6 separate regions of the Homo sapiens genome follow, and all the other regions are linked to region 3. The links are contacts of gene promoters, found by promoter capture Hi-C in blood cells and fetal thymus (Javierre and others, 2016). All regions are on one chromosome and are shown on one strand. Each heading gives the region's core, a stretch centred on a gene start or on the middle of the fragment in contact. The rest is flanking DNA. Distances are from core to core; before and after follow the strand shown. Region 1 overlaps ARL15 (ARF like GTPase 15). Region 2 overlaps ARL15 (ARF like GTPase 15). Region 3 holds the start of NDUFS4 (NADH:ubiquinone oxidoreductase subunit S4). Region 4 overlaps ARL15 (ARF like GTPase 15). Region 5 overlaps ARL15 (ARF like GTPase 15). Region 6 has its middle 61 kb from the start of LINC02105.

Region 1 (4,656 bases), core at 635-3,134, 460 kb before region 3:
ATCAAGATAAAGTCGTACCCCTTTAGAGTCAATCCTGTATTTCCCATCTTCGAAAGTCTAGAGCTTAAGTCTGCCATTTCATTTTTTGCTTTTTCGACTTAACCGTCTCTTTACCTTTCACTGTTTTGTTTTTCCTGCCTTCCTGAGGGTTATTTGAACTTTGTTTATAATTGCATTTCCATATATCTGTAATATTTTTAAATGTGTCTGTTTAGATTTTTAGTGTCGTTTTAGGTATTACACTGTACATCCATAATCTTTAACAGCCTATTTGTGTCAACATTTTACTAATTCAAGTCCAATGTAAAAATTATTATCTCTCTCTACATCCCTTTACCCTCCTCATTTATAATATAATTGTCTTAAATATTTTTTATTTTTTCAGTCTAGTTTCTTTCGGTTGTTCAGATTGGGTAATTCCTGTTTTTCAGTCTGCAGGTTCACTGACCTGACTTCTCCATCCTGCTGTCGAGCCTATCCATTGAGTTTTTAATTTCATTATTACATTTTTCAGTTCAACGATTTCTACTTATTCTTCTTTATATCTCCTCTTTGAGAACATTGAGAACCACATCAGACAGTGTTGTAATTTTTTCTTCCACCATCAAACATGATATCTCTCAAGAGGAGAAGGGCATAGGGGTGAAGGGAACTTTCCCTCCATCCTTTGAAGGTTCAATAATTTGAGTCTCTGGAATAAAGTTGACAATATACAGATTAACAGGAGAAAAGGCACACACGTTTATTACATGCATATAGACGGGAGCCCCACACAATATGAGACTCAAAAAAGGGCCTGATGGTGGAAGCTTAAATAGCATTTTGAGCTACAGAAAGAAATAAGGGGCTGGGATTTCTGGTGGGAGGTGGTAACAGGTTATAGAGGTTTGAGGGGAGAAAAATGTGTGATGAGCAGAGGCTGTCTTGTTATACGGATAAAGTCTCTCAGCTAGCAATCTTCAGAATAGGTGGTTTTGACCTTTAGTCTCCTTTCCTGTGAGCTAATCTTCTCTGTTTGATAAGATTATAGAGAGGGGGGCTCAAAGCAATTGCATTTCTTCTGGAGGAACTTCCCTTAGTCAGATAAGGGAACTTCAGAGAAAGCACCTTCCTGCACTTTGGGAGGGAAAGAGGGGCAAGAGATGAGAGACAGGGGCAGCAGGGGACTGGAGGAGGGTGAGGAGAAGGTCAGAGAAACCTTGATTCAAAGCACTCAGCATGCCAAAGCACCATACTTTGGGACATTGTTTCCTGAGCCCCAATAATACTTACGCGTATTTTTGCTCTTTTCAATTTTCCTTATTCCCAGTGTTCCAGTATTTCTTCTTTTTATCATTTCTCTTCCATTTTGATAACTTTCTGTAGCCATTTCTTTAGGGTAGGTCTGCCAGTGACAAATTCTCTGAGTTTCCCTTCGTCTGAGTATGTCTCAATTGCCCCTTCATTTCTGAAGGATATTTTCACTGAGAATCAGATTCTGTCTTGACAGATCTTTTCTTTCAGCACTTGAAAATGTTGCATCATTTCCTTCTGGCTTCCGTGGTTTCTGGGGAGGAATCTGCTGTCATTTTAATTTTTATTCTTCTTTAGGTGAGGTGTCCCTTTCTGCCCTGCTGCTTTGAAGCTTTTTCTTTGTCTTTATTTTTCAGAAATTTCATTATGTTGTATCTTGGCATGGATTTCCATGGGTTTTTCAAATGTTTGAGGTTCTCTAAACTTCAATCTGTAAACTTCTTCAATCATTATGTCTTTTTGCCAAATTTGGGATATTTTCAGCCATTGTTTCTTAGAAGAAGTTTTCAGCCACACCCTCTTTCTTTTTTCCCTCTGAAACTTCAGTGACACAAAGGAAATCTTCGATTATGGTCCCACAGGTTCCTGAGGCTCTGTTCATTGTTTTTAGACTTTTTCTCTTTGTTGTTCAGATTGAGTAATTTCTGTTGTTCTGTTAAAGAAATTCAGGTACGCTGATTCTTTTGTTTTCGCTCTTCTATTATTGAGTCCATCACTGAGCTTTTGTATTGTTCAGTTATTGTATTGTTTAGTTCTAAAGTTTATATTTGATCCTTTACATCTTCTACTTACTGATGTTTTATATTTTTTCTTTTGTTTTATGCTTCTTTATTATTGCTCATTAAAGCTTTTTTGTTTTTGTTTATGTTTTTTGAAATGGAGTTTCACTCTTGTTGCCCAGGCTGGAGTGCAATGGCATGATCTCAGCTCACTGCAATCTCCGCCTCCCGGGTTCAAGCGGTTCTCCTGCCTCAGCCTCCCAAGTACCTGGGATTACAGGCATGTGCCACCACACCCAGCTAATTTTGTATTTTTAGTAGAGACAGGGTTTCTCCATGTTGGTCAGGCTGGTCTCGAACTCCAGACCTTAGGTTATCTGCCCACCTCGGCCTTCCAAAGTGCTGGGATTACAGGCGTGAGCCACTGTGCCTGGCCCTAAACCATTTTTATGATGGCTGATTTTAAATCCTTGTCAGAAAATTCTGATATCTGTGTCTTGGTGTTAGTGTCTCTTGACTGTCTTTTCTTTTTTTTGAGACGGAGTTTCACTCTGTCACCCAGGCTGGAGTGCAATGGTGCTATCTCGGCTCACTGCAACCTCTGCCTCCTGGATTCAAGCGATTCTCCTGCCTCAGCCTCTTGAGTAGCTGGGACTACAGGTGCCAGCCACCACAGCCAGCTAATTTTTTTTTCTTTTAATTTTTATTAGAGACCAGGTTTCACCATGTTGGCCAGGCTGGTCTTGAACTCCTGACCTCCCGGCCACCTGAGCCTCCCAAAGTGCTGGGATTACAGGAGTGAGCCACGAAGCCCTGCTGACTGTCTTTTCTTATTCAAGTTGAGGTGCTTCTGGTTCTTGGTATGACAAGTCATTTTTCATCAAATTTTAGACACTTTGGCTATTATTTCATGAAATTTTGGATGGATCTTTTTGAGACCTTCTGTCTAGTAGATGTCGTCTGATACTGCTCTACCTCTTTACTTGTTCAATGGGGTTGGATGTCTGGGTTACCCACTAAGTCTTTGTTGGCATCTGGTGGGTAGGCATACCTCATTATTGCTTGGCAGGGGCAGGAGTTCAGGCTCCTTACCAGCCTTCCCATGATACCCCCACTCTGGGAGAGGTGGGGATTCTTACTGCTCTGAGTACAGTCTCTACTGACACTGCAGGGGGGTGGCCTTGGTACTGCAAGGTGGTGGTGAAAGTCCTAACTAGTAGGCCTCCGCTGACACTGCTCCTGTAAGGAGGGGAAAGGACACATCATTCCCCCAGTGCCAGTCCAGGTTCCTGGAACGTACACAGTCTCCATTGACAGTGTGAGAGGGGGAGGGTCACCACTGATTTTTAAAATCTCATTTTAATATTTCAGATATTTCCAATTATAAGTAACTTTAATACTTCATATGTTTACTTTTTTGGTTATATTTCTTTTAGATCTACAGATATATTTAGTTTTTTCATACTAGTTTTAACAAAGCTCAGAGCTTACAATTTTGTCTGGTGTTGTAGCGTCACATTTGAGAACTGCTAATTTGCTTTTCAGATGTGAGAAGAAGAGAATAATTGCAAAGTGTGCTGTAGATGAAAGAGTTTAATGCTTTTGTAGATATTTTGTGAAAAGCAGTGAAAGTATAGGTCTGGTTTTTTAAAAAATGGAAATAGATGGTGCTTACATTCCTACTTGATTCTTCAATTTATAACAACCCAATTATAAATATTACTTTTTGTTCCAGATTTTTTACAGAATCAAGTGTATGTTTGTATAAGGCTACATTGGCATGAGCATTAGAATGTCATAATATTCACATTTCCTTTTCAAATTTAGGATGTAGTTTATTACATTTCTGGAATTATGCATATGCAGAAGATCTAAAGTTGAAATTTGAAAATTTGTAAATACATTCAGAGATTGAGATAATTCAGTGACTTCATGGCCCCAACATACTTAACTGTCGTTCAATATGATATTAATTGAAGGCTTTTAAGAAATCCTTCCAACAAATAATAGATTTCTAGGTATAGCCCTCTGTAGTTTTACCGAACACTACTTTAAGTAGATATGAAGATTCTCAGATCATTTGTTAAGATAAAGCTTCCGAAATAATAATGTAGACCCTCTTAAAAATAAAAACTACCAGAGAATTAATTGCTTTAGCCTTATCTCAAAGCAAATGGAAACCTACTTAAACAATACGTCGTTTACTTACCTTTGACATATGTGGATAAGGGCATAAATAAAATCACTTGGAAAAACCTTCACTGTTAGATGACAAACTTAGGTACGTCTCAACTGGGTTAGGAACATAAAAAGAAAAAAAAAAAACCTGTTTATCTTTTTCAGGGTGTTTCAGAAAGTCTTATACTTTATGATAATAAATTCATCAATTTTATAAATAAATTAACATACATATTTTTTCATTAAATTTAGTAGTTAAGATGCCAATGCATTTCATTGACAAAAAACTGTTTAACAATAAAGAACTCAATAGTACCAAATTCGTAAAGAATCTGATCTTGTTCCTTAATTTAGCCTACATGCATTATCTTAAATTGTGCAGATTATAGAAAAAAACAACAACATTGGGAACTATAATAGATTATTCACTCCGGGTGTTTAGTTCTGTTTTGTTGAAGAAAAGGGA
Region 2 (4,442 bases), core at 202-2,701, 380 kb before region 3:
CTCAGCAACCCTTCTAGGCTTTAGTTACTTCGTCTACAAAATAAGGGGCCTGGCCTGCAAGGTCCTTCCCAGCTCTAAACTTCTATGTTTATGGTTAGTGGAATGAGAACACTACATTTTACTTTAACATAAATTTACTTGACTTTACATTTAATAGCAATGGCCATATATTTCAAGTTTAAATATATATTTACATATTTCTGCAGTCGGGAATTTTAGATTATATAAACCTTTTTGTTTTTGCAACTCATTTTTCAGGTGCTTTGGAATTTCACTGCTGTTCTTTTTAATGTATGGTGTTTGCAATTGTAAAGTTTGGAATTTTCATTCAAATGTGAATTTTTTCTCTTATTCTGTCTTGGTTTAACACTTCTCAGTGTGCTGAGAATGCCTGAGTTGGAGGTAGTTTGAGAAAGTGGAGCAAAGCAAAACTAAATAACTCGTTTGGAGGTTAAACCTTCACCCTTGACCTAAACAAACTGAGTTAACGAACCAAAGATTACATTATGGAGACTACAAACCCCTGCTTCTACAAGTTTATAATCTAAAAGATAAACTGTCTGATGTCAATGTACGTCTAAACTACTCAGTAAACATACCCAGTAAACGACAAACATGTCCGTGTTCACAGTTGCAACGTAATAGTGATGTAGAAGCTAGGAGTACAGTGGAAATAGCGATTGTCTGTTAGATCAGGAAGTACAGAACATGAAAGGCCACTGTGGACAGAATGGATCATCGTAGGAATAAGGTCACATGAGGCAGGACTTTGAAGATGGTTGAGTAGAGACGAGGAAGCTGACTCACATCTCTCTCAGCCACTCCAAGCTTACTCCTTAGTCAAGTGCTGTTTAGCCCTCTGCCTACAAGAATGCAGCCTCCCTGATCTGTTGCCCAGGAATCAGTATTTGTTTTTCACTGCCTTCTTTCTAAATGTCAATTCCATCCCAAAGATGGGATCCTTAGAAGTATTGAACCTATATTGGCCTGTCTCTGCATAGTGTAACTTAATTGGGCTACTTCTAACCATGCTTTTCTCTATTTTGTTTATTTGGTATTCTTTGAGGACATTATATGTGCCAGACACTTTGCTAGGCCTTAGGTATATAGTGACGAGCAAAAGAAATAGTAATTAAGCTGATACATTTGTAGTGAATCAGAAAATTAGCAATTCTAGAAAAGCAGACAAATAATTAGCAAAGAAATCAAGGAAAAGGATAAGGTAGTAGGATAGAAAATAGCTGAGAGTGCAGTCGGGAGCTACTCAGTAGGTGATCAGGTTTGTTGTTTGTTTTTTGTTTGTTTGTTTGTTTTTTGAGGCAGGGTCTCACTCTGCCACCCAGGCTGGAGTGCAGTGGCATGATCACAGCTTTCTGCAGCCTCAACCTCCCAGACTCAGGTGATCCTCCCACCTCAGCCTCCCGCATGCCACCACACTCAGCAAATTTTTTGTATTTTTTGTAGAGATGAAGTTTCACCGTGTTGCCCAGGATGGTCTCAAACTCCTGGGCTCAAACGATCCTCCTGCCTCGGCCTCCCAAAGTGCTGGGATTACAGGTGCGAACAACTGTGCCCGGCCAGGTCATTTCTTTATTTCATCCCTTTTCTCATATATTCCAAGTCTCTTGCTCAAGCTGTTTAACCACTCCCTTGTGGACTTTTTCTAAAGCCCCATATCTAGGCTGTTTGTCTACAGAATTGATGATACTTTTAAACTCCTTTTAGTTAAAACCCAAGTATTTGTTCAAACCCTGTTGTGTTTTTGGCTCTGTGCCAGACATGGTGGTGTTTACCATGTAGTTCTAAGGCCCTGTAAGATCCCTAGAAGGATCTTAATTCATTTTCTATCCTTCACTTGCTGTGATTTTTATCTCCCATGCCCATGTAACATGGGGTCCAGAGTTGAGATGAGTGTCTTTCTTGTTCCTTACTGCCACTTCCAGACCATTTATCTTGCAATTAAAAATTCCATTTCCTTTTAATTTTAAGCCATTGCACTATTCTACCTACTACTGTTCTGGACACATTTTGTACAGCTTCCTGTTGATTCTGACCATCATTCATAGAAGCTTTTGAGCGCTGGTTTGACACCTCTTCTTCCCATGGCTGTCTGTCATTCTTGGAAACTCCAGCTCTCAGGTAGAAAATTTATCCAGCTTTGGTTCTCTTAGTTCCTTGAGCACTTTCCTTCCAACAATCTTTCTTTCACTCTATCTCAGCCACCCACTCAGGCCATTCTCAACCAGACTTGGCCATTATAAGTAGCTGTACCACCTGTGAAACCTCATCTTTAAGCACTGTCTTTGACAATTCCTGTCTTTTCAACTCACTTACTCCATACCTGCATCAGAAAAACTGAACATGACAGAAGGAAAAACCAGCAATACTACTCCTGACTGGCTTATTAAATTGATGACCATAAGGCTCAAGGGGCCCCAAATTTTCTAGTAATCTTAGCTGGTCACTTCTCTGGGAAGGACTCATTCATAGTTTCTCCTCCTCTCTCAAACCTTCAGTATCCCTTCCACCTTCTCAGTGGATGACCTCACTCCCTGTTTCCCTGAGAAAATAAAAATCATCAAAACAAAAAATCTACTAACCTTTTACACACACTTTCTTACCATATCCTTTTTCCTTTCACCTACTGAAGTTACATTTTCTTTCTGGCATCATCACTTTGTTCTTCTCTCTAGTGAATTATTACAATCAGGATACAGAGTGTTAAAATTATATACATAGCCCGTTAAAATCTTTTAAAAATCCCTTCTTATCTTCCCCAACACCCCCGCCCACTCCCCACTGACCAGCCCTCCTCCAGCAAGTTTCTTTCTTGGCTCTGCAAGCACACACTTATCGTGAAGCTCCTAGAGAGAACATTTATTGTCTCTTTGTTGCCTCCATTTCCTCCCCTCCCATTTTCCCTCTTGAAGTCATGCCAATCAGTTCTCTCATGACTCAACTACTACGCAATCCACAGCGGATCCATCCCTCCTTCCTGAAGCACTTTCATCACTGGTGGCTGCTTATCACACCCTCACATGTCCTGACTTCTAAATAGTGGAATGCGGGCCTCATTTTGTTTTTAATCTCTTCTCCACCTACACTCATATCCTAGGTCATCTCACCTTTCCCATGGTTGTTTTGTTTTGTTTTGTTTTGTTTGAGATGGAGTCTCGCTCTGTCACCCAGGCTGGAGTGCAGTGGCGCGATCTCGGCTCACTGCAACCTCCACCTCCTGGGTTCAAGCGATTCTCCTGACTCAGCCTCCTGAGTAGCTGGGATTACAGGCGCATGCCACCATGCCCAGCTAATTTTTGTATTTTTAGTAGAGACGGGGTTTCACCATGTTGGCCGGGATGGTCTCGATCTCTTGACCTCATGATCCACCTGCCTCGGCCTCCCAAAATGCTGGGATTACAGGCATGAGCCACCGCGCCTGGTCCTTGGTCCATGGTTTTAAATACACCAATGATGCCTATAAACTGATGAGTCCTACATTTAAATCTCTAGCCAAAGCTCTCAACCGATTTCTAGATTATTCCTGTGCTTCCACAGCTTCTAGTGCCACTGGTATGTCTGATGCCATCTTACATTTAAGGTCAAAAGATTCCTGAAGCCCCCACACAACTCAAACCCAACTTCTCCCCCATTGTTTTCCATCTCAGTCAAAGTAGCATCCTTCCCTCTCTTCCCCACCCACCCCACAATTTACCTAGTTCCCTGGCCCCAGTTTCTCTCAGTGCCCACATGAGCAAGACCAGTTGCCTTTATCTTCAAAATATATCCTGAACCTACAGTATTACCACCCTAGTCCAAGCAACCTGCAACCATTCCTCTCTGGATTCTTGTAATTGCTTCCTACCTGGCATCTCTGCTTCCATTCTTGCCCCTGCCCGCCCCATACTCTTTACATGGATTTTTTAAATAGATAAATCAGACTGTGCCACTTCCCTTCCCAGAGCCCTGCGGTGGTTTCTCATCATGAAAATAAATAGCTCTCCTGACCCAGGCCTTGCTTAGCTTTCTGACTTCCTTTTCTACTGCTGGAGACAGTTAGAGGTGAGCACCCTGTAGAGAGGTGGGCCCTCTATTAGGTGGAGGGGAGGGGAGGAAAGGGAGGAAGGGAGGGAAGAAAGCGAGAAAACACCAACAACTCAAAGAAGAATCACCACATAAACAACTGTGCCCACCAGGAACATGCATCTTGCCTGCTATTATCTAATAGTTGAGATGTGAAGTGGACTGGCAAATTTGTGGGTTCTGGTTATGGAGAACTGACCTAGGTTGATATTCATTCTGCCAGAGCCACTGGAATTTGTAGTTTCTGAAAAGACTTGTGTTATTTGGCAAAACCAGAATTGGGCATCATTTATCTTCATGTACTTAGCCAAAGCCCTAGAAAAACTTTTTTGATTCTTAAGAAAATGATCTAAACCCAATAA
Region 3 (5,124 bases), core at 1,766-4,265:
GGTGGGCACCTGTAATCCCAGCTACTCTGGAGGCTGGGGCGGGAGAATCGCTTGAACCCGGGAGGCAGAGGTTGCAGTGAACTGAGATTGTGCCACTGCACTCTAGAATGGGTGACAAGAGCGAAACTACATCTCCAAAAAAAAAAAAAATGTAGACAATTTAACCCCTTTTTTTGCCTCCTCACATTCGGTACAGGGAAATGAGAAGCACATGGAAACTGAGACCAACACTACAGCACAAGCTCAGTAAGTAACTAGATCAGCTCAATCACCCACATTACTAGATTTTTTCTCTCTTGTGTGTATGTGTTGTTGCATTCTTTGTTTTGCTTTTCACTGATGATATACTATAATTGAATTAATATGTTAATGTAGCAGCTAACAGCATCCTTCCTTTTCTTTTTTTTTTTTTTTTTTGTTTTTTTGAGACACAGTCTGGCTCTGTTGCCCAGGCTGGAGTGCAGTGGCGCGATCTTGACTCACTGCAAGCTCTGCCTCCCGGGTTCACGCCATCCTCCTGCCTCAGCCTCCTGAGTAGCTGGGACTACAGGCGCACGCTGCCACGCCTGGCTAATTTTTTGTATTTTTAGTAGAGACGGGGTTTCACCGTGTTGGCCAGGATGGTCTCGATCTCCTGACCTTGTGATCTGCCCGCCTCGGCCTCCCAAAGTGCTGGGATTACAGGTGTGAGCCACCGCGCCCGGCCCTTCCTTTCCTTCAGTTCCCTACTCCACTCCTTACCTTACTGATTCCACTTCCCATATTCTATTCAAATGATCTGAAATGTTACATGATTTGCAAATGTTTTTCTAAGCATTACAATAAAATGAATTTTAGATGTAGATTTTCCCATTAATTGGTTCTTTCTACTCACCTTTTTCAGATCCTCATTACTATCAAATCATAATGGAAAAAGAATGCTTAAGGATGAAGAACAAACAATATGTAAGGGAGAGGGTCTATAAATTTCCCTCAAATTAGGATGAACATGACAAGCTCTTAGGGTAAAAATGTGGCACAGAAAACAAATAAATGTGTTAATTTGTATTTAAAAAACGTCTTCCCTGGCATTAAGATTTTTTTTCAAGATTAAATGATTTATTTTCAAATCTCTTACATTTGCAGGCAAAAACTCTTAAGTTTGGATATGTAGTAACAATTATCATCAGAGTTTCAAAAATCTAATCTCAACTTCAATTACTATAATTGCTGACAAAATGGCTTTGACTTAAAATTACAGCCATGTTTTGATTAGCCATAAACCAGTGGTCCCTTCAAACTTGTTTTCAGTTCTGGGGCTACCATGAGTACATTATTATCTGGGAATGACAATTAATCCCTATAATCTGTACGGGAGGAAGGGCTAATCTTGGTCACCGCTATATTAACTCTAAGTTAACCAGTGAAGTATTTTACCTTAGAAAAATACTTAACCCAGCCTGACCAACATGGTGAAACCCCGCCTCTACTAAAAATACAAAAATTAGCCAGGTGTGGTGGTGCGCGCCTGTAATCCCAGCTAGTCAGGAGGCTGCGGCAGGAGAACTGCTTGAACCCGGGAGGCGGAGGTTGCAGTGAACCAAGATCACGCCATTGCACTACAGCCTGGGCGTCAGAGTGAGAATGTATCTCAAAAAAAAAAAGAGAAAGAAAAAGGAAAAATACTTTCCATATATGGAACACTTAATTACAAACATCATTTGCCTTTCCCCAATCTTAGCACCCTTACTTTTGAGTGACTCTATTCTATGTATTTAGTAATCGTTTAACTAATGCTTTCAAGCCTTTTCATAAGCCACGGACCCTACGGGACACTCTCTTCTTTCCCACCCAACACCCACTATATTTAAACCTTAATAAAACTCATCCTTAAAAATTCTTCCGAATTAACTCATCCTAATTCTCTGCATTCCATTTATATTTAACACTAAATCAATTAGCATTCTACTAGACCTTCCTTTCAACTTTTAACCACTTGCATCCACCTCCTACCCCCTTCAAATCTCTCCATCCAGTCTTTCCAATCTTTGTTCTAATATGTGTGTGTATGTACGTATAGCATTAGTACTATAATTTAAAAAACTCCAGGAAATTCTGAAAAATAGAAAATGGAAGGTTAATACAGCCAAAAAAAAAAAAATCATCACAAAAATGCTTCAAGGAAAAACAGTAACAACTCAATCAACTGACAACTGAATCTGACAATACTTTGGAAAAGTACTACTTTAGGTTCTCAAGGACGCAAAGAGCCCTCAACAACTCAATTCAATCCCTGAATTATTGTGAGGCTTTAACAAAATCCCTAGAAAACCTCCAGGCATTACCACCAGCCTTTTAAAAATTACCTTCCAATATTACTAGCAGTGATATTTTTACTAACACTGAATTCCAAACAAGTTTTCCTCCCAAGCAGACTGATGAATAAACAATCTTCCTATGCAGAAACCAAATTAAAACCACTTAAAACCATGGAAGGGATACAGTGATTTAACCCTTCTGTAAGGACTGGAGTGGTGGGCAAACAGGTGACAAATGGAAGGGATGCAGAAAGTGGAAACAGAAATCAGTGAGACTCCTCCCCTTCTCTGAGGGCTAAGGTTCAGCTTGCAGCTCCGGAGGCAAAACCTCCACGGACCCTCTCCCTCAGCGACAAGCCGAATACGAAAGCTTCCAGAAAACCACAGGTCCTCCTCCCCGGCCTCGCACTCACGCCCTCACTCGCCTGGCCAACGCCCATTGATAGCAGACAGTCCCTAGTCCGCCCGACTTCTCCCGAGAAAAGGGTCAACAGAGGACGCCTTCCCCGAGGCCTCCTCCGGAACTCAGCCAGCAGAGACTCCGCAAAAATGGAGGGACCCAAGAAGCTTGAAGAAAAGTGTGAAAATTCTATTACCTGGTCGGAACCCTGGAAACGGAAAGGGCAGCTACAGCCACTGCCCTTCTCCGCCACAACGTCTGCCTCAGTACCACTGACATTGACACCGCCGCCATCTTGCTGCAGGCAAACGCCAGGATGAAAGGACGGATCACCGCAAGGGACTAACTTCCTTCGTTCTCAAGCCAGTGCAATCGCAATGTTGCGAAATTCTTTGGGATTTTATTTTCTTTTTAATACTGGGGCTTAAAAAAAGAGGGGAAACGCTTAGTTTAAATAAGTAAGAAGAAAAATGTGCGGGAAGAAATGCAGAAGTGCATTAACTGTAAATATTACCACCATAAAGTGTAATCTTTACTGCTTGTTAGGACTGGTGTTTTACAATGATAACGAAAAGACCAAAATATACTTGCATATTTAAACACCTGCAACTCGTAATTTATTGAAGAAATTAGGATATTTGGGGCTGAACCCACTGGAAAAGCTGGAGAGCTCTTTGGGTCCTTGAGAACCTGCAGTAGTACTTTTCCAAAGTATTGCCAGATTCACTTTGCAAGCCCTCAGGACAGGGCTGTATTCAGTTTGATATTCTGTAGTAGTAATGTTCGTATTTTCCAAACGAAAAATCTGGATACGTGATCTGGCAAAGGATTATTTTTTGACATGTAGATTTATATGAAGAATCAATAGAACATAATATTTGATGTCACTGTTTCCCCAGTAAATCCTGAATGTGTGTGTGTTCATAATCCATAGACATGAAGAATGATATTAATGCTCCATGCATATAAAACAAAAATTATCTTCCAATACAAGTGTTGGAAACATGTTTGTATTGTGGACTTCCGACCTTAAAGAATAATGACTAACTGAATTATATAAAATAAAAAGCAGGTTAGTTTTGGGTTTTGTTTTTTAAGAAATTTGTTTAAAGAGTTAGTACTTTCCTGCTTTTAAAATTAAGCACATGAAAACATAACCTTCATTAAATAAATAGGAACAATAGGAGGATGGGGAATGACATAGTTTGGCATTATGGACCGTTAAAGGAAAACCCAGTACATAAGGGAAAGGGAGAAAGAAAGAGAAAAAGTCATACTCAGGGAAAGAAATGCACAAGATGAAGGAAGGCAAGGGAGAGATGCCTCAGAGAAAATTTTCTTTCAAACTTTTCATTTTGAAATAGTTATAGATTCACATGAAGTTGCAAAGATAGTACAGATGTCTTGTGTACCTGTTTCCCCCAGTGATTACATCTCGTATAACTCTAGTACAGTATCAAAGCCAGGAAACTGGCATTGATATAAAGTATTTGTGTAGTCCTATGTCATTCTACTACATATTTTGTGTAACCACCACCATGATCAAGATACAGAACTATTCCACCCTCACAAAGATCTCCCTAGTGCTAACCTTTTTGGTAACACCTGCCCTCCTAACCCTAGTGATCTCTGTTTCTGTTTTTATAATTTTGACATTTTGAGATGTTATATGAATGGACTCATGCAGTACATGACCTTCTAAGATTGGCTTCTTTCACTTGGCATAATGCACTTGAGACCCATCCAAGTTGTTGTGTTTATCAATAGTTCATTCCTTTTTTATTGCTGAGTAATATTCCATGACATGGATGTACCACAATTTGTTTAACCATTCACCTATTGCAGAACATTTTGATTGTTTCCCATTTGGGGCCATTACAAATAAAACTGCTGCAAACAATTGAATACAGGTTTTTATGTGGACAAAAATCTTCATTTCTCTGAGATAAATGCCCAGGAGTGCAATTGCCAGGTCATGTGATACATGTATGTGTCATTTTTTAAAGAAATTAAAAACTGTTTTCCAGAGTAACTGTAACATTTTACATTTCCTCCAGCAATGTATGAGAGATCCAGTTTCTCCATATCCTCACCAGCATTTTCTATTATTGCTATTTTTGTTTTAGCTGAGCTAAAGTAAATAATAAATGTGCAGTAATACCTCATCACAGTTTTACATTTATTCCCCTGGTGGCTAATAATGTTGAATATCTTTTCATGTTTTTATCTGCCATCTGTATATTCCATTCAGTTAAATGTCCTTATGTCTTTTGCCCATTTTCTAATTAGCATTATTTGGTTTTTTACCTGTACATTTTGAGAGTTCTTCATATATTAGATGTGTCTTTTGTCAGATGCATGATTCACAAATATTTTCTTCAATCTGTAGTTTGTATTTTCATTCTCTTGACAAGATCTGCCACAGAA
Region 4 (4,883 bases), core at 1,030-3,529, 350 kb before region 3:
GATATCCACTTTCCCTTATCTGCTTACTTTCAGGGGCCTTCCAGAGAACAAATGGCTGGTCCTTTTCCAAGGGGACAGATTTTCCTACCTGATGCTTTTGTTCTCCAGCAAGAAAAGAAAATGAAAACTGTTGTCTTCCCCTAGAATATTGAGTCCAGAGTAAGCTGAAGCTTTGTGTATTTCTTTTGTAGTGATTTCCTTCATATATATATGAATAGAGTGACTACTGAATATCGGAGGTTTGGGCTAGAGGTAAAACCATCTCTTTGATATGCAGAGCAAAATGAAATGATAAAACATCAAATGTTGGGATGTTTGAAAGAGTTTCCTACATGACCTGTCAGGTCTTAATTTGCTCAGAGTAATGCCTTGGGCCTTCTTGTGTTGTTAATAGCCTTTAGGGGAAATTATGTTGGAGGCTGTATCAATCATCTGGCCTTTTTCTTGTTTCATACAAGATTCCCTGTACCCTTATCTTTCTATCAGAATATTCTAGATTAGCTGTGTATTTGCTGGGCAGCCTTAGTACTGATGCCTTAAAAGAACATGTCACCTGCCCCTGTCTTACTAGGCACTTTCCAAATAATAATAATAATACTTTGTGTTCTGAAACCTAATTTTCTTTCTTTCTTTCCCCCCAACTTTTATTTTAGGTTTAGGGGGTTACATGTGCAGGTTGTTTTCCCTGCAGCAGGTAAATTGTGTCACTGGGGTTTGGTGTACAAATCATTTTGTCACCCAGGTAGTAAATATCATACCCAATTGGTACTTCAAATCTCTCCCTCCTCCCACCCTCCATCCTCAAGTAAGCCCTGGTGTCTATCGTGGAACCTAATTTTCTATTTCTCTTTTTTTTTTTTTAATATTACATTTTGACTCTTCACCTGGACACAGCCACATTGAGATTAAGGTATTCTCTGAATTAAATCTGTTCTGGGTATTTTGTGAGTACGTTTAGAATTTCAGGTCAGGTGCAGTGCCTCATGCCTGTAATCTCAGCACTTTGGAAGGCTGAGAGAGAAGGATCGCTTGAGCCCAGGAGTTCAAGACAGTCTCTCTACAAAATATAAAAATAAATTAAAAAGCCAGGTGCAATAGTGTGTGCCTGCAGTCCCAGTTACTTGGGAGGCTGAGATGAGAGGATCTCCTGAGCCCAGAAGGTCAAGGCTGCAGTGAGCCATGACCATGCCACTGCACTTCAACCTGAGTGAAAGAGCAAGTTTTAGAATTTCTATCTTGGAATAGAAGCCAAATTGGGAACCAAGAGGCGAATCACTTAAAGTCACCTGACAAATCAAAAACCAACCTTAAATCAAGTCGTTTCTCTTTCTTACTTGCTGCAATGATATTTAAAATATATGTTGCCCTGGTTGAGACTGTTTGTCTTGGATCAACATCATTCTAAAGAAAAAGGGTAAATTTGACAGGGATGCTTATTTTACATTTCTTCCTTTCGCTTTTTCAAGTTTTTACAACTAAAATAAATGAATAGTGTAGCAGCTGGAATAGAAATCTCTTACTGATTGGGCCATAAAAGTGGGAGCTTTCAGAAACAGCCTATTCTCCACAAAATAAAATAACCTAGACATTGTCCAAACTGTTCAATGCTAGACTTGAGAACTATAGTTTTAAAGCTTCTTTTGCTATGGATTTATTATCATTTATAAATATTATGAATTTTCAAATGAGTTAGCAACTATCAAGACAGGTAAATCTCACACCCTCTTCTGTGTTCCCACAGCCATTTTTATACATACCTTGTTATAATTATTATCTTTTTCACCCAGTAGCCTACGGGTTCTTTGAGGGCAGTATCAGGTCTTGGTTATCTTTCTCTCTCACAGCACAGTGCCTTGTGTGTGATAAAGCCCCCAACAAACTGAATTAATAAAAACTATAGATCATCCTGCCCAGACTGTTTTAGGAAGTATTTGTGTATCTCCTCCCCCTAGTAGTTTGGTTTGGTCAGCTCTGTGCCCAGCATCTCTGCTCAGAAGGCAAGGACAAGGGAGGGAAGGAGGGACTGAAATTTCTTTGGCTGACTGACCAGATGCAGTGGCTCATGCCTGTAATCCCAGCACTTTGGGAGGCCAAGGCGGGTTGATCACTTGAGGTCAGGAGTTTGAGACTAGCCTGGCCAACATGGTGAAGCCCCGTCTCTACTAAAAATACAAAAATTAGCTGGGCGTGCTGGCACATGCCTGTAATTCCAGCTACTTGGGAGGCTGAGGCAGGAGAATTGCTTGAACCAGAGAGGTGGAGGTTGCAGTGAGCTGAGATCACGCCATTGCACTCCAGCCTGGGCGAAGAAGCGAGACTCCATCAAAGGAAAGAAAGAAAAGAAAAGAAAGGAAAGAAAAAGAAAAAGAAGATAAAAAGAAAGAGAAAGAAAAGAAGAAAAGATTCCTTTGTCTATTCTCATTAGCAGCTCATTCAGTTCCATTCAGTGAACACTCTGAGCATCTGCCTCACTTCAGACCTTGCTCCAGATGCGGAATTCGCCAAGATGAGTGAGAGGGTCTACTTTGGGCAAAGCTCTCTGAGCCTTGAGGTCTGTCTTCATCCCAAAGAATTTGCACTCTAGCAGGGGAGAGGGGAAATGAATGGACGAATATTTATGTATTACTTGGGTTGAGGGAGCAGTCAATTCTTCAGGGAAGGGAGAGCAAGGAAAACAAAGAAGGGAAGTGACAGGGGAAGGGAAGGAGGTTCCAGAATGCATCAGGTGGATAAGTAGCAGTCTTGAAGTGTGAAAATTAATACATGGTATATTTGGGGAGACAGCAAGCACTTTAAGGCATAGTTTCAAGTAGGGTTGGGGCTTAAGTTGTTGAAGTGAGAGGGATTTTTTTTTTCCTTAAGGCTTTCTACACGATTTAGATTGTAAATCTTTGGAGGATAGACTGCTATACCACCAAGCTTTCCTCAGAGAAGGAGATCAAAAACATTGGGAGATTTAAATGTAATAAACTAATACAGAACTATAAAGTGTGTGTGTGTGTGAGAGTGTGTGTGTGGGCCTGTGCACTTGCTAATTTCACTTCCCTTTCCTTGTCCTGTCCACTCTCTGGTATATATAAATAATGAACTGATTAAAACACTCACAGAAGGGAAAAGGAGATAAGGAGGAAGAAGAAAAGTTTATGTTCATTCTAAACCCTCAGGTGCTGTGATTTCAGGAGGGAAGAAGCTGTTTATAAGTAAATAAATATACACACACATATAATAATTGTACTTCACATATATATAATAATTGTACTTCAAGATAGCGTGAATACTTGCAATGATACAGGTTAAATACCATTAGAGTGATAAAACCAAGGGACTACAGGATCTCAGAGAAGGAAAACCTCACCTTCAGCTATTGTGATTAGAGATTGAGAAGTAGCATTTGAATTGGGTCTTAAGCACAGATAGAAATTTAGTTGAGGTCATAGTAGTAGTAGAATAGTGCCAGGTACTATTCTGAACACTTTAATATTCTAATTCAATTGAGCCTCACAATGAACCTTGTGATATAGGTATTATTGTTCTTGTCATTATTATTATACCCATTTTCCAAATTAGAAAACTATGGCCTAGAGCAGTCAAGGGACTTACCCAAAGCCAAAGAGTTAGTAAGTAATAAAAAGGGGATTTGAACAACGGTAGTTTCGGCTTCAGTCCAGTTAACTAGCTAAACTACCACTCACAAGAAACAGGACAGAGGGCCTTCTAGGAGAAAGAAATGTCTTGGGCAAAGAGTTCATATTTGGAAAGGGCAAGGTGAGTTCAAGGAGTGACTAAACTCAGTTAAGGGGATAGGATCTGTGAGTATTGAGAGATGACAACCCTGCTTTGTTTTGTTTTGTTGACACAGAATATCACTCTGTTGCCCATGGGGAAATGCAGTGGTGCAGCCTTGGCTCACTGCAACCCTGCCCTCTTGGGCTCAAGCAATCCTCCCACCTCAGCCTCCCAAGTAGCTGAGACTCCGGATGCATGCCACCATGCCTGGCTAATTTTTAAAAAAATTTTTTGTAGAGATGGGGTCTCACTCTGTTGCCCAGTCTGGTCTTGAAGTCCGGCCTCAAGTGACCTTCCTGCGTCAGCCTCCGAAAGTGCTGGGATTACAGGCGTGAGCCAGCATGCCTGGCCTGACCACCCTGTTTTGAACTGTAGACTTCCCATGCATCTTCCTGCTTCATCTTCCTAGTACTTTATGCCATTGTCTAACATGCTACATACTATTTTAGTGGTTTATCACATTTATTTAGTCTTTCTTCATTAGAATGTAAGTAGCTAGAAGTTTGGGATTATTCAGCTTTGTTCACCGCTCTATCTTTAGTCTCTAGAAGAGTATCTGGCATGTAGTAGGTTCCTGTTGAGTATCTGTTGAATGAATGAATGGATAAGTTGAATTCAGATCACTGAGGGTTCCACAATACTCTAGCAATCTTTAGTCTCTTGTGGACCTCACATGATATGTGGGAAGCCACCAATCAACCTTGATCATATCAATGTGTCATGTGTCTGTGCATTCAGTGCTGCCCTTTGGAGGAGGGGGTGCTGCAAGATTATGGTGGAGAAATATAAAAACATTGAAAGGATTCTGTGGTTTGAAATGCTTTGTTCTACTTGCAATACTCTCAAGGAGTAGCTGCTGATGTGGACTGAGTTTTAAGGGACTTCAGGAGGCATTGCAACAAATCTCATCCCAACCCTATTATAAGTACCTAAAGTTACATACTGTTGGATTTCATTTCGTGTTATTAATCACTGATTTTTCATTGAAAACCGTTTTTTTGTTGTTAGTACTAGCTCAGCATGCAGCATACTAAGTAACAAGCAGCATATTTCCACTGTACACAGGCTCTTGGGCCAGACCACCACTATTGTGTCTT
Region 5 (4,821 bases), core at 363-2,862, 440 kb before region 3:
TAAGTAACAAGCTGATTGATTCACTGAATTAATATTGAACGGCTTCTCTCCCACCTCCCAGTTAGTTCTCAAAGACTTTTCATGCCCTCATCTCTTATGTAAATATTCCACTTTTATTCTTTTGCATCTCTAACCTTCCCTTTATGTTTCTGCCAGAGTTGTCCTCCTTACAGAAGTCCCTTTCTGTGCAGGGCTGTGCCTTATTCATCTTTATATAACCCAAGTGCTGAACCGCAGTGCCTTGTATACAGTAGCCACTTAAAGGTATGCTAAATTTGAGCGGAGCTAAGAAGGAAGGAAAGAGATGTGAGGGGTGACACATTGAAAGGAGGATTAGAAAGATAAAAGGGGAGAAACTAAAGGGCTGAGGCCAGCCAGTCTGTCTGTAAACATTCCATTAGTCCTGGTGTTAGATTGGATAAAAGCTTTTTTTTTTTTTTTTTTCCTGATGTCCCTGGACACTTCTCCTTTGGAAAAGAACGATACATTATTCAAGAGATGGGAAAAGCGAGAGAAATAGGGCTCAGTCCCCCTCACAAAAATCTGGTTCATAGAACCCAGAATTTTGGAGCTAGAAAATGCCTGAGTAGAGCCCAGCTCTCATTCTGCAGGCAAGGAAACTGAGGCATGAGGAGGTTAAGTGGCTTAGCAGCTAGCTAATGGGAAAATCAGCAGTCAAACATGAGTCTCTTTCTTCCTCTCCCAGCACATCCATCAGTAAATCACATTTTCTCTTTTCTTGGTGGTGCAGGCCAGTGTTTAAGGTGAGGGATTATGATTACTAAGAGACTAGGCATTTTAAAGACCCTTTGCTAATCACAAATTTTTGCAAAGTTTACATCAGGCTCTTTTTAAAGGACTCAGCATGGTGGGAAATAGATTAGTGGTTTTACATTTCTTTTTTTTAAGTGGAGATTTCCAAAGCGTCCCTCTTTTTATTTTCTTTTTAAAATAAAATTGTACTTAGCATAATTAGAGAAACAGATTAAAGTGGAATTGTTCTGGCTAAATTGGAGGTGAGGACCATAAATTCTGCTTGCTGCCCCCTTCCCCATTCACCTCCTTCATCCTGCTCCTGGATGCCCACTGAAGAATCTGAAAAGTTTCTTAGAGAACACTTTTTATCCAGTTAATCAAATGACCTCCAAGGTCCCTTTCATTCTCTCATGCTATGGTGCTGAGATGATGTAGTCTGTTGCCATTTGGATCATTATTGAAAATTATCAGGTGATGAGGATTTAGGGAGAGTGAAACAAGAAGTGGTGTGGGAAGGCCTGCTATTCATCAGGAAATAAAAGGTACCCTTAATTTGGTTTTTAAGAAATAGTCAGGAAAAGAGATTGATAGGGCAGCAGAGAGACTGTCTACTGCTTGGAGATTTTGAATGCTGTGGCTAGAGTGATAAACAAAGACAACTCTTAGCAGTGGGCACATATCAAGAAATGAAGAACGACGAGCCCAGAGTTGAGGAGCTCAGATTAGGGAACTCTTCTGAGCTCAGGACATAAAGAAGAAGACAGATTATTTGGAGAAAAAAGTTTGAAAGGTTTTTGTGAACTGGATTTATAATGTAAAGGACAGAACTTTGTTGAGTTGTTTTCCAAGGTTCAGCAAACGAATTGCATTTCAGCATAAATTTGTCAAATGGTAGATGAGAAATGTATTCTTCACCCTATTGAGGTAGTAATGTTGGAAAGAGATCTTGCTGTACGATACAGGAGAAGGAAGGTTTATTAAACTGCACAGAATGTCTGCAAGTCATCCCACATCTCTGAACTCTTTCTTCCCATCTGTAAAAATAGGAAGATTATAATTTTAGATATGTTGAGCCTGTGTCCATCCCAGTGCTCCTGCTCCCTTCTGCCTTCAGGCGTAAGGTACAGGTGTAAGGTGTTAGCCTACCATTATTCTCTTTTTATCTAGGGTCTCTTTGGATCAGTAGTCTCTAACTAGAGACAATACCATTCCTACCTAGGGGACTTTCACCTAACCAGCCTCAGAAACCTATTTTTAGGTAGCAAAAGAAAAACATTTGTCATATAGACCTAGATGTTAGCTGCTTGTCACAAGCTGAAGGGGTGTTCTCTTTTTTTTTTTTTTTTTTTTTTTATGAGACAGTCTCACTCTGTCACCCAGGCTGGAGTGCAGTGGTGCGATCTCAGCGCACTGCAACCTCCGCCTCCCGGGTTCAAGCAATTCTCGTGCTTCAGCCTCCCAAGTAGCTGGGATTACAGATGTGCACCACCGTGCCCAGCTAATTTTTGTATTTTTAGTGGAGACGGAGTTTTGCCATGCTGGCAAAGCTGGTCTTGAACTCCAGACCTCAGATGATCTACCCGCCTCAGTCTCCCAAAGTGTTGGGATTACAGGTGTGAGCCACTGCACCCAGCCTGAAGGGGTGTTCTAATGTTGAGTATGATCACACATGCATCAGCTCTGTTCTGGTACTCGCATTTCGTCAACCAGAGGCTCCCCTCATAAATGTCAGATTAGTCCCAGGAGACACTAGTCTGCAATCTGATTTCCCTTGCCATTGTCCCCAGCTAGGCGGCAGAGCTGAGTTTAACTAAAAGTTTAAGAAAACTGGGTTTTTTGCTCACCCATCTAGCTGAACATTCTCCTGAACATCTGCCTGAACATCCTCCTCTGAAGAAGCCAATGAGAATTATTGATAATGTATGAACCCCCAGGAGACAAACCTTTTACAAATAAACTGAAAGACAAGGAAGTAAAGTTATATACAGTTATTAAGGAACACTCAACCACCCCTGCTTTTTAAAACCACATAATGAAGCTTTAGCACATTTCACCCTTATTCTGTTTTTGTTTCTGTTTTAAGCTAGAGACTCTTTGGGTCAGTGGTTTCCAACTGGAGAAAGTACTTTTTTGCCTAGGGGACTTTGGGGAACGTATGGGAATATTCTGATTATCACTATAACTGGGGTCACTGCTAGCATTTTGTGGGCAGGGGCCAGGAATGCCAGGACAAGGCCAACCCCCGAAAAGGGAGAATTATCATATCTTAAATGCCAGGAGCATCCTCATTGAAACACTGAGCATTTTAATGAAAATGTACTCTTCCTTTGCCAAATTTTCTTACTGATAAACTATGATAAACTACTCTTGAAGATGAGTAATCTATAGCTATTTTGCTTATTTGGACCTTAGTAGTGTAACTGTTTTCTGACATTGGACACTCAATAAGTGTCTGCCAAAATACTGAGAATTATGAGTAGTGAGGCATCAAATATTTAAAACATATTTCTGTTTTATACATAAGCAGTATAGTCATTTTTAAAATCATTTATTGCACACCCCTAATGTAGACAAATGTTTATAAAATATTATTTGAATTAAATGCAACTGCACACTCACATCATTTAAAAAAATCCCCAATTGCTTTTTTTTTTTTTTTTTTTTTTTTGTGACGGAGTCTCGCTCTGTCTCCCAGGTGTGCAGTGGCACAATCTCGGCTCGGAGCAACCTCCACTTCCCGGGTTCAAGCAATTCTCTGCCTCAGCCTCCTGAGTAGCTGGGATTACAGTCACCCACCACCATGCCCAGCTAATTTTTGTATTTTTAGTAGAGATGGGGTTTCACCATCTTGGCCAGGCTGGTCTTGAATTCCTGACCTCGTGATCTGCCTGCCTCGGCCTCCCAAAGTGCTGGGATTACAGGCATGAGCCACCGCGCCCAGCCTCCCAGTTACTTTTAAAGAATGTCTTGGCACCCATTAAGAAAAGTAGATGTTTAGACCAGGTACGGTGGCTTATGCCTGTAATTCCAGTACTTTGGGAGACTGAGGTGGGAGGATTGCTTGAAGACAGGAGTTTGAGACCAGCCTCAGCAACATAGTGAGACCCCTGTCCATATAAAAAGAAAGAAAAATAAGTGTTGATTTGAGGTTTGTGTGTTTTCATTTAAATGGCTCTAATATTAATATTAATGGCATAGGACTTTCAAAATAATTTAAAAAAAATTTTAAAACAAGGCAGCTGGTATATGGCCTACATTTAGATGTGAGTTGCAGTTTTTAAATGCATCTTCACTGTTGGTGGTCTCAGCAAAGTCAGTTCAGACATGGCAGGAGTTAGGGATTGGGAGGAAGAAAATACAATTTCATTTTCCTCATGTTAAATGTACATTATCAAGGATCCAGTTTAAATGTGTCTAAGTTAATTGGAGCCCCTAGGAGCCACTTTGCTAAGCAGCTAATTCAGCCTCTCTTCCCCAGAGAGGATAATTGTTGTTAAAAAACAAAAAAGTAAAATGTGTTGTTTTCTCATGTAATTATGTAACTGACATCTTTATATAATAATACATTTGGGTGGTCTGTCCCTGAAACACTCGGTTTGTTAGGAAACATTACAGTTTCCACAAGTAATCACTTACTCCTAAATATGATGAAAGAATTTGGTAGTATTACATTGCATCATTGCATTAGTCAGAAGCTAAACTTTCTAAATGAGTTTGGCACTGGAGAAGGCTTCTAGGTTTTTTGCTATATTTTTCTTAAATGTCATTATATGAGCTAAAATATTCTTCAGGTGGAATACTATATGACGGAATGTTTAAAAGTAACAAAATACCAATCTGTTAAAGAAAAGAGCAAGGGTCCCAAAGTGGCATCTTTTCAGTAATTACATTGTGATATCCTTATCAACGTGGTTATTCCAGTCTCTTTCAGCTCATTCATTTACCCCCACTGGATTGGGTTAGGACGCATGAACTTACTTGCCATAGTGAACCACAAATATCTTGACAATGGACACACTGCCATTAAAATGGAGTTCATTTTAATACATGTTGGTAATAAGGTTC
Region 6 (4,493 bases), core at 35-2,534, 320 kb before region 3:
AAGCTGGGAATCTAACCTTCATTCCTAGGTTTATTTCTAGTGTAGGCAATTAGCAGTTATCAACTTCCTAAGCATCTCAGTCCTATCCAAGTAAATGTGAACAGAACTGTAAGATTTTGAAGCAAATGGGGTTTTCTTCATGTCCATATTGCATATTCAGACTTGAATGGAAATCTAATATTCGTGCCTGGCTTCATCCTCTTTATAACTTTAGAGTGCATTTTCATTAACCTCCTGACCTAATGGCGCAAACAGAAATGAAAAGGTATGTAGGGTGGTGGGGCTGGAAGTGGGAGTTGCCCTTTGGGATCCCTCATTTTCAATGCATTTGGAAGGGAGGGTCTGTGTTTGTTATGCAGAAACTTTAGAATGTAGAGTCCCTGTCTTGTTCCCCAGCCTGGGTCCTGGAGATCTGAAGTTCATGCTGTAAAATGCATTACCACATCATGTTGGGAATTCCTGGCTCCCAAGGGCTCACAGCATTTGGTCACCAGTGAATCAGCATGTTTAAATTATGTGCATCTCAGGGTTAAATGTTTTTCAACTCAGATGCATGAAGTGACTGATGAGCCCAAGGTTTGGCACCCTACCCCACACCCCCTTGTACTAATTTAGGAACATGAAAAGGATCCCTTAGAAGCCTCAGATGGGATGTCAGTTTCTCCTCCCCTTTCCTATTCTCTTTGAATTAAAGCTTTAAATGACAAACTTTTCTTCCACCCACTGTCTCATCAGATCTGGAAATTCTGACTTCCCTTCCTGGGGTTTCATCTGTTTGTAACAACTTCTCCATAATGTGACTTACTGTGAAACCAAGCAAAGAAGTTAAAAGTCACAAAGAAGAATCTCTCCAATACGCCCTGTCTAGCATCTTCCTTTCCTTATGAAACAAAGAGAAATTCAAAGCCCATGATTTCTCTATCAGATTTTTCTCTATAATCTCATCTCACATGCCATCTCTGCTCTGCAAAGCATATTGTATTCACTGGCTCCTGGTTTAGAAAGGCCAACTACAGGGTTCTTAGGCTTAGCCTGCCCCTTCCCTTTCTTGCTGTACTTCTCAAGTCCTGACTGCACACAGGAATTTCCACAGGGCATTCTAGATGAATAATCACTTTCTACAAGGGAATAGTGTGGGCCTGGTGGCTTTCAAAGAAACTTCACTTACCATATATGCCTTGTAAGTCACTTGTACCCTGTTGGGAGAATAAAGAAAGTGGTTTCTAGATGTAATGCCTTGCTAGGCTCAGCCAGGTTTATAATCCAGTCCAACTCCTTATCCCCACTGCTCCAGCTAGACATAGACCAACGTGGGTACAGCCATTCCACCACACTTTTAAAAAACGATCTTCTGCTAACTACTAGATAATGGTGAATTCCCTTTTTCCTTCCTTCTTTTTCAAAAATCTCTTCCTTTTATCTGATGATCTCAAAGAATCCTACATAAATGTTTCAGCCTAGTTTTCTTCTAGCAGCAACATTTCAACCATGGAGGTGAGTTGGCAATGTAGTCCCCAGAGATGCTAACCTGGCTCAGGCCCAAGGGAACAAATCAAAATGAGGCTTGAATAAGCACCAGGTTCCCCAGACTCTCTCATTTTCCTGTTTCTTCATGGAATATAGGGAGGCGGAGGGAGCTGGTTATTTCAAAAAGCCTAAGATCACTTCCATCACAGGCAAACCCCTCCTGAAAGTGTGAAATCCAGCCTACAATGGACTTTCACCGACAAGTGATTCATTGAGACAAAGGCTAGAGTTCCAGCATCAAACAGATGTCAGACAAAGCACCAAACGCCTATAAATGATTGCTTTGCAAGCAAGGGAATGACTGGAAGACCTGGCCTAATGATGTACCCCATGTCTGGACAAGCTTACAGAAGATGGTGGTGGAGGGAGCTGGTTTTTTTTTTTTTTTGAGACGGAGTCTCGCTCTGTCGCCCAGGCTGGAGTGCAGTGGCGGGATCTCGGCTCACTGCAAGCTCCGCCTCCCGGGTTCACGCCATTCTCCTGCCTCAGCCTCCCAAGTAGCTGGGACTACAGGCGCCCGCCACTACGCCCGGCTAATTTTTTGTATTTTTAGTAGAGACGGGGTTTCACCGTTTTAGCCGGGATGGTCTCGATCTCCTGACCTCGTGATCCGCCCGCCTCGGCCTCCCAAAGTGCTGGGATTACAGGCGTGAGCCACCGCGCCCGGCCGGGAGCTGGTTTTAAACAGAGTCTGTGAAGAAAGCTGTTTCTGGAGAGAGAAGTAAGACCACAATTCTTACCTGAGAGGTTCATGTTGAAATGAATGATTTCTGGCCAGTTTGCGTATAATCTGTGTAAAGGTAAATCAGAAAAATGTGTGTCCAGGGCACCTTGAAGGCCAGAGTGATGTGGTATGATATTAAATCATTAGACATATAAATATTAAAAATGAGAAGATTTTGTTAGAATGGAAACGGCTCACCAAAAGGCAGAGACAAGAATGCAAACAGTAAGTCTAGCTGTCATTCTCTGTAATCTGGAGCAAGTCAGGTTTGTCTCTGGACCTTCTCCAGTTGTTTTACAACTTTCTAGACATGCAGTGTATCAACCCAACACTTTTATTAAGCAGCTTTGACAGGGTTTTTGAGATGACAGCTAGTCGAGATTCAACTTAGCATTGTACAGTTTTATTTCACAATTGGAACTTTCGGTTTTAATACTTTTAGGACTTTATTCATTAATGCAACACTTTTTGTTGAACACCTACTATGTACCAGGGATTGATATAGCTGTAAATATGACATACTTAGTCTCTGTCTTTGTAGTACTTTAATTCCTGTAACACTTGTTAAATTGGATTATTTTTATGACCGTAGAGAATTAGAGGGGGTGAGGGATTTTATTATATTAAAATTGCAATTTCAGTCTCTAGATTTTAAAAAATTTGTTCTTGGTCCTAATTTCTGTTTTTTAGCCCTCCTAATTTAGAATTGTTTTTGGGTGCTGTTTAGCTTCTGCGACCATTAATAAAACTAAAAATCTAACCATAGTGAAGTTTTTGCCTTTTCTTAAGCATCTTTGTAAATAGAACCTTGTAAAGCTAGCACCTTTTATTCTGCTATTTTGCTGCTACAACAATGAAGCATGTGTCTAGCACACAAAGGTGCTTCCAAAGTGCAAAATCAAACTCTTGTCAATTACCTACTGTTCTTTTCATCCTCTCTGTATTCAAAGGGCTTTGCCTCCTCTAGAACAGCCTTGTCTCATCCTGCCTGTTGATCAAACAAATGACTTATATTTGAAATGTTGAATGTTTAATCTCCAAGAGGAAAATTCTTATTCAGCAGCAGTCTCTTGTGTTTTATTCCACCTAACAGTTAAAGCGGCTGCATGTCTGCCACGATTCACATGCCCAGACAGAGGCAGTAACCTGTAAGCATATAACCTGCTGGGTTTTTTTGTTGTTACTGTTTGACCTAGGAAGGTAGCAGTGAGTTTTAACTGGGTTTCAAGAGGCTGCTTTGATTTTCTGTCATTGAGGACTGGGAACTTGGAAAGACCCCTTTACGCCCATGATTTATTCCAAAATGGTACTTGGGCAAAGTCGTTCCTTTAGCAGGAGTTAACACATTTTGGATTTAGAACATTTTTACAAAATCTATACCAACACTGTTCGCATTTCCTTGAACACCTAAAGGCCATATTGTTCCTGCTCACCAGTGTTAAGCCCCATGCTAGATGTGACCCTTAGAGAGCCATGACACATCCCTTATGCTGTTTACTGGCCCAGATGTTCAGGTCAGATCACAAAAATTAACTGAAATAGAAACCTCTCTATTTCCATTCCATTTGTTAATTTCAAATCACCCAATTTTTTTTTTTTTTTTTTTTTTTTTGAGACAGAGTCTGGCTCTGTCTCCCAAGCTGGAGGGCAGTGGCCCGATCTCGGCTCACCGCAAGCTCCCGGGTTCAAGCAATTCTCTTGCCTCAGCCTCCCGAGTAGCTGGGACTCCAGGCGTCTGCCTCCCCGTCTGGCTAATTTTTGTATTTTTAGTAGAGACAGGGCTTCACCATATTGGCCAGGCTGGTCTCGAACTCCTGACCTTGTGATCCGCCTGCCTCGGCCTCCCAAAGTGCTGGGATTACAGGCGTGAGCCACCACACCCAACCAGAGTCACCCAAATTTTTTATTTTTTATTTGTATTTATTTTTTTGAGACGGAGTCTCACTTTGTCCCCCAGGCTGGAGTGCAGTGGTGCAATTTCGGCTCACTGCAAGCTCCACCTCCCAGGTTCATGCCATTCTCCTGCCTCAGCCTTCCAGAGTACAGGTGCCCGCCACCGCGCCCGGCTAATTTTTTTTTTTTTTTGTATTTTTAGTAGAAATGGGGTTTCACCGTGTTAGCCACGATGGTATCGATCTCCTGACCTCGTGATCTGCCGCCTCGGCCTCCCAAAGTGCTGGGATTACAGGCATGAGTCACCGCGCCTGGCCCAAATTTTTTATTTTTTAATTTATGAATTTAT

Evidence for each region. The method cuts DNA at HindIII sites, captures the fragments that hold promoters and counts their contacts. A CHiCAGO score of 5 or more calls a contact.
Region 1: a contact is called between a fragment that was not itself captured here and the fragment with the promoter of NDUFS4 in region 3, in 1 of 17 cell types (M1 macrophages). The highest score is 5.4, in M1 macrophages.
Region 2: a fragment that was not itself captured here is called in contact with the fragment with the promoter of NDUFS4 in region 3 in 1 of 17 cell types (M1 macrophages); the score reaches 5.9 in M1 macrophages.
Region 4: a contact is called between a fragment that was not itself captured here and the fragment with the promoter of NDUFS4 in region 3, in 2 of 17 cell types (erythroblasts and endothelial precursors). The highest score is 6.0, in erythroblasts.
Region 5: a contact is called between a fragment that was not itself captured here and the fragment with the promoter of NDUFS4 in region 3, in 2 of 17 cell types (M1 macrophages and M2 macrophages). The highest score is 5.7, in M1 macrophages.
Region 6: a contact is called between a fragment that was not itself captured here and the fragment with the promoter of NDUFS4 in region 3, in 3 of 17 cell types (M2 macrophages, M1 macrophages and M0 macrophages). The highest score is 7.7, in M2 macrophages.

Annotation. Positions count from the first base shown.
Region 1 is chr5:54,018,846-54,023,501 of GRCh38, reverse strand. The region is part of intron 4 of ARL15 (ARF like GTPase 15); the gene reads left to right. Among named protein-coding and RNA genes, the nearest start is that of MIR581, 70 kb to the right of the region's middle. RefSeq lists enhancers at 2,740-3,646, 4,385-4,656. The HindIII fragment of the contact is 516 bases long and covers 1,627-2,142 here.
Region 2 is chr5:53,941,466-53,945,907 of GRCh38, reverse strand. The region is part of intron 4 of ARL15 (ARF like GTPase 15); the gene reads left to right. Among named protein-coding and RNA genes, the nearest start is that of MIR581, 7.9 kb to the left of the region's middle. The HindIII fragment of the contact is 1,241 bases long and covers 831-2,071 here.
Region 3 is chr5:53,558,530-53,563,653 of GRCh38, reverse strand. It overlaps NDUFS4 (NADH:ubiquinone oxidoreductase subunit S4), which reads right to left and starts at 3,015. Exons shown (of 5, transcript NM_002495.4): 1 at 2,894-3,015. The coding sequence starts at 2,991. RefSeq lists an enhancer at 2,614-3,113. The HindIII fragment of the contact is 3,063 bases long and covers 2,867-5,124 here.
Region 4 is chr5:53,912,272-53,917,154 of GRCh38, reverse strand. The region is part of intron 4 of ARL15 (ARF like GTPase 15); the gene reads left to right. Among named protein-coding and RNA genes, the nearest start is that of MIR581, 37 kb to the left of the region's middle. The HindIII fragment of the contact is 1,285 bases long and covers 1,637-2,921 here.
Region 5 is chr5:53,993,907-53,998,727 of GRCh38, reverse strand. The region is part of intron 4 of ARL15 (ARF like GTPase 15); the gene reads left to right. Among named protein-coding and RNA genes, the nearest start is that of MIR581, 45 kb to the right of the region's middle. The HindIII fragment of the contact is 2,369 bases long and covers 428-2,796 here.
Region 6 is chr5:53,878,815-53,883,307 of GRCh38, reverse strand. No RefSeq gene overlaps it. Among named protein-coding and RNA genes, the nearest start is that of LINC02105, 61 kb to the right of the region's middle. RefSeq lists an enhancer at 1-1,106. The HindIII fragment of the contact is 1,176 bases long and covers 697-1,872 here.